Regions from separate parts of the Homo sapiens genome. Here region 1 is linked to region 2. Evidence: promoter capture Hi-C in human tissues and cell types (Jung and others, 2019). All regions are on one chromosome and are shown on one strand. The core of a region is centred on a gene start or on the middle of the fragment in contact, and the rest is flanking DNA. Distances in the headings are between cores, read along the strand shown. Region 1 overlaps PLOD2 (procollagen-lysine,2-oxoglutarate 5-dioxygenase 2). Region 2 holds the start of PLOD2 (procollagen-lysine,2-oxoglutarate 5-dioxygenase 2).

Evidence for each region. Contacts are between HindIII fragments. The study calls those that stand out against the background at their distance.
Region 1: a contact is called between a fragment that was not itself captured here and the fragment with the promoter of PLOD2 in region 2, in 1 of the 25 tissues and cell types used here (aorta).

Annotation. Positions count from the first base shown.
Region 1 is chr3:146,115,659-146,118,358 of GRCh38, forward strand. The region is part of intron 3 of PLOD2 (procollagen-lysine,2-oxoglutarate 5-dioxygenase 2); the gene reads right to left. Among named protein-coding and RNA genes, the nearest start is that of PLOD2, 44 kb to the right of the region's middle. The HindIII fragment of the contact is 5,917 bases long and covers 1-2,700 here.
Region 2 is chr3:146,159,896-146,162,595 of GRCh38, forward strand. PLOD2 (procollagen-lysine,2-oxoglutarate 5-dioxygenase 2) reads right to left here and starts at 1,289. Exons shown (of 20, transcript NM_182943.3): 1 at 986-1,289. The coding sequence starts at 1,094. The HindIII fragment of the contact is 5,771 bases long and covers 626-2,700 here.

The sequences.
Region 1 (2,700 bases), core at 22-2,521, 44 kb before region 2:
CTCATAAATAAGACTGTCTGACAAACTATTTTAAAAATGATTCTGTGCCAGTTCCCAGACTGTATCAATGGTTCTCAACTATGGCCTAAAGCGGGAGTCAGTAAATATTTACTCTCTGGCCTTTTACAGAAAATATTTTAGGTCCTGATGACCATATTGTCTGTCACAGTGACTGAACTCTGTCACTGTGTTGCAAAAGCCACCACAGACAATATGTAAACAAATGAGCACAGCTGCATTTCAATAAAACTTTTTACAAAAACAGGCAGTGGTACAAGCCACAGAATCCATCATCTTGAGTCTCAACAAGAAGCAAAAGCTCCCATATAGCCAAAAAAGAAAGCAACAGAAGTGTTCCCTAACCTTGTCATTTAGCCCCAATCCTTTATCATTATTGGCATAAACTTCAGCAAAAATTATAATCATCCAAACTATTAGCAGCACAGAAGTAGCTTCACACCTGATAATTCTTTCATCATATCTTCACCTGAAGCATATGTCTATATTTCCAGAGATAATTAACATCACAAACCAATACTATGGATCCACTCCTAACCACCCACCCTCAAAACACACAGACACAGACACACAGACACAGACACACAGACACACACACGCACACACACAGTTAAAAACACCCACGTACCCAGTTGACTTTGCACAACAGATTATGATAAAATCACAATAAAATGATTAAAATTATTTTATAAATTTTGGAGGGAGGGAAAGGGAGTTAGTTGGCATAAAACAAATACAATTTTAACAGATAAATATTGAACCATCCTGGCATTCCTGGGATAAATCCCACTTGATCATGGGGGATATTTTTGTTGTGCTGTTGGAAAGAAAATAAGTATATCAATGGGATACCTATACTTCCATGTTTACTGCAACACTACTTATAATAGTAAATATATGGAACAAATCTAAGTATGTATCAACAGATGAATGGATAAAGGAAATACGGAGTACACACATAATGGAATATTATTCACCCATAAAAAAGAAGGAAATCCTGTTATTTGCAACAATAAAATGGTTACAACTGGAGGTTACTAGGTTAATGATATAAGCCATGCACAAAAAGACAGTATCAGATGGTCTCACTCATATATGGATATCTTCAGTTTTCCTTTTGTTCTGAGAATAACCTAAAACCTTGCCAAATATCTAAATTTTTTTATCTAAATTAAATATAATAAATCTTACCCTACAGATTATAAAGAGCCAGTTTCTAATTTTAAACGTTCATCCAAAAGTAAGTTTAGAATACATATTCCATGGAAGGAATGCGACAAAATTGTTTCTAAATTAATTCAGGCTTTTTAGCATGTCTAAATGGAATACGGGATAATTATGGGGTATTGGAAACATTCTAAAATTGCATAATGGGGATGACTGCACGACTCTGTAAATTTAATTAAATTCATTGAATTTTACACTTACAAATGTTTATGGCATGTTATATAAATTATGCCCTAACAAAGCTGTGTTTCTTAAAAGGCTCATCTAAACCACTAAGTATATACATCTGTGTATATTTTCATATGATAGTGACCTATGCTTCCATAAAACAGTTGAGTTGTCCTTAAAAATACCACATAAAAAATAAGAATGTTTTGCTTTATTAAAATGAACATATCCTGAATTCTGGACCTTTACCAGAGCTAACCTTAATTAAGAGTTTAGGAATTGTGTTACAGAATGGGCATCATATTTCAAACCATTTACAAACAGTTTAATTCATTCTCCCAGGCCCTAGATTACAATTTTCAACTAGATTCATTACTCTGTATAAACTTTTTAAAAAGGGTGTTGTTTTTAAAAAATAAGAAGGGTAAAAAAAATTTCTTATGTGGCTTCAATTGCTCATCCCTCTTTAACCTCCTGGTTACTTTCTCATGACCCCTAGGTTTTTTCCACAGGATAGTCATGGTAGGTAATGATGCAGAAAATGTTAATGACTCTTCTTAGACAACAACTTGGCTGAGTGGGCACCCATGTTTTCAGTTAGCTGGCTGTTCTCACAGGAGATGTCAGAAATTTTATCTGTTTGTTTCCATTATATATCCCAAACACTAACAGTGCCTGGAAGACACTGTGTCTTCCATTAAAATTTTATTATCTTTTCTGTCAAGCTGGGTCCTAAAGTATCATCTAAATCAACAAACTCAACCTCAAGCAGGCTTTAGGTATATCACAGTGTCCTTCTTCTCATGAGAAAAAAATAGGTCCCTCACTATACCAGTTGTCCACAAGGACAAATATTAGATAGGGGGCCGGAGGTGGGGGATGGTGATGCGAGAGTGATGGTAGAGAAAAGTTCTTCCTAAAACCCAAAAGGAAGCTTGAGGATGTAAAATCATTTCTGACTCACATGTAGTAACTCTTACAAGGAGAATCTGCCTCAGAGCCAAAGTGAAAATGTACATGTGGCAAGTTTAAGCTGACTAATATGGTTGTTTGAAATCCATGGTAATTTTAAACCAAAACATACCCAGTATTTATTCTACAGAGCTATTTTAATGAACTTGGTATTCTTTTTCTAAGTGTAAAAAAAATAACAAATGCTGTAGAAAAATTCCCAGTACACTATGGCTAACACTTGCCTTACCATACTTCATCTTGCAAAATAGGTAACCACAAGCAGAACTTAATATTTTGTGTAAAATATAACAGGAAAATTTTACAGATGCAAGT
Region 2 (2,700 bases), core at 39-2,538:
CTGGACTGCAAACCAAATGTCACTTTCTGAATGTAACTCTGAAATAGAAATTTCTGTCCTTAGGCTTAAGAAAAGTTCAAGTAGAAAAGCACTCTATTATAAACTTGGGGGAAAAAATGGTGCCAAGATGACTTAACAAAAAACAAAACAAAACAAAAAGGACATTAGAAGGTCATTTAAATGCAAGATCTAATTTCAGAGAGTTGAGCACAAAGAGCACAAATGTGGAAAACTCCAAGGATTTTTCATGTGCCACAAAAGGCAGCAAAGCATGTTTAGACAGACGTGGTGAAACTCTCTTTAATCTGGCTAAATATAAAACGTTTTGTTTTACACAGCTTCTGAAAACGAGAGACAGCACCGGGCTCAAGAAAAGGGTAGGTAAGGGGAGCAGCTGTGTGTCCACAGCTTCCCCTTCAGATCCCAAAGGAAGAAAGCTGCCGCCTGGAGGTACTGGGTAGCCAGGCAGCCTTACTGAAAACAACTAAGGTTTTCGAGCGAGCGTTGTTTTTGGCAAGAGGGAGGTGTTACCGGCTGCTTCCTGGGGTGCTGGAAGGAATGTGTCACCATCAATTAGAAAGTACACTAAGCCCCGTGTTTAGGTCACAGAAGGAGTACTGCCTCGTCCATCAAGGATAAATCCATGCCAACTCTCGGAAAGGAGGGGAAAGGAGAGCTGCAGGAAAGGTGTTGGTGCCCATGACCTGCAAGTCCAAAAGGAAACTCCAACTTGTTCTGCAGGGAAATTCGGGCACGCTGAGTTCACCGAGAACTCCAAGGAGTCAACGAGGGCGGGTGCCCCTACACTTCCCCAGGGACCAGCGCCGCCCGACCGCAATTCTGGGGAAGACCCCGGCGGTCCTGGAGAGGAGGGACAGGCCCCCACTACTCACCTGGCCAGCCCCGCGGAAGGGCTGGTGGATGAATGAACTGCCCCCCCGCCGGCCGAGCCTCGCGGGACAGCGGCGGACCGCGGGGTGCTCACCTGTGGGGATGCTCGAGGGCTTCTCCGAGTCCGCACCCAGACAGGGATTCCAGGGGTGGAGGACGAGCGCCAGGAGCAGCAGCTGAGGCTTCACCGTGCATCCCCCCATATTCGGCCCTCGAGGGCCGCGCGGGCTCAGGCGCCCACGGCCCCGCAGCGCCGCGCTTCTCGCGAGAACGCAGAGACCCGGGTCCGCCCTGAGCCGCCGATTGCGGGCGGGAGCCGGCGGGCAAGGCGCGCGGCCGGCAGCCGGAGCGGCGCGTAACGCAGCTGAGTGAGGTCGTCGGTGGAGGCACGGAGCAGCAGGCGCCCGGGGCGCTGCGGAGGCCTTATAGGCTCCCCGAGGGGAGGCGACGGGGCGGGCCGCGCCCTGGCTATTGGCCGCCGGCTGACCCGCCGCCGCTGCGCGCCCGGTGCGGTCGCCTCAGCTCGCCCTCCTGGGCCCCACGTCTGGACTGTTTGCTCAGCGCGGACGCTATTTAAGGAGCTGCCTGCGGCTACGTGTGGAGGCTCACGCAGCGCTTCTGGCTGGAACGGGGAAGCCTGCACTTAGCTTTGGGAGTGGGTTTGGGAGAGGGAGGAGGAGCCGCCGGGAGTCTGGCGGGAGGGCGGTGTTCCCGTCTGGGTTCCTCTCTGCTGTCCCAGCCCCGGTAGCTTCCACAGCAGCCTCGAAGGGTGAGAATTTGCTCTTCTATGGACTTGGATACTCCACCCAGTCTGAAGTGACTGCAAATCTGCGGCAATCTTGGCTGACTGGGACCTCGCCAGACTCTTAAGCCATGGAAATGGATCGCCCCTCATTAATTCAGGGGCAGGTTCATCACCCTGTAAAAGGAAGGCCGTGATTTTATTTTACTCCGTAAACCGAAAGTTTTATTGTCCAGTGAACATTTCTTGCTCCGCCGCTTGTGCCAAGAGAGCCTTAGACTCTTTCCAGTAATGAGGCTTGTAAATCCTGCGGAATCGGAGCCCAACGTGTGTAATGCCGGGGCTGTGCTTACAAGATCGTGCTCCAGTCCGCATGGAAAATTACTCCCAAAGACGTGGTCGGAGAGGTCGAGATCTCTGAGCCTTGGCCCCCACTGCTTCCACTTTTGACTGATGTCTAAGAAAATTCCCTTTTTTCTGTTCTCACATTTTAACTAGCCAAGGGTTTAACTTGTTGGAATGAGTGGGAGCAAAAGCACAATTAAGAAAAAAGCTTGACAGTTTTGCCTCATACATTTAATGACATAAGCTATTTTATAGGAGAAAGAGAACCAAACTGCTACCATTCTGGAATCTCCTGCCTAAATTTTCGTGAAATTAGAAAAAAACAGAATCGAGACAACACCCGTTATAACTCTGGGCCTTTGAAATTAAGACAGAAAATTATGGAAAAATGTGTTCCATTATGATCACGTTTTGTCTAAAATTAACATATCAAGATAACATGAACTTAATGCTTTCATCTTGATAGCATTAAAAACAGGTGGAAAACCCTGCAAAGAAATCTTGCCTGGGATGTGACATTTTAGAAAGAATCATTTCCTGTGCCCAGAACTAAGCCAGTTATTACTCTGTTTTGAAGGTTTGGTCTCAGTTTTTTAAAAGAAGAGGAAAACTGGAGAAAGTTCTGAGAAGAGTAACAAATAATTAAAGAAGTGGAAACTATGACCTGTGAGAAGAATGAAATAAGGTTTATTTAGTCTGAAGGGGAAAAAAAAAGCTAAAAG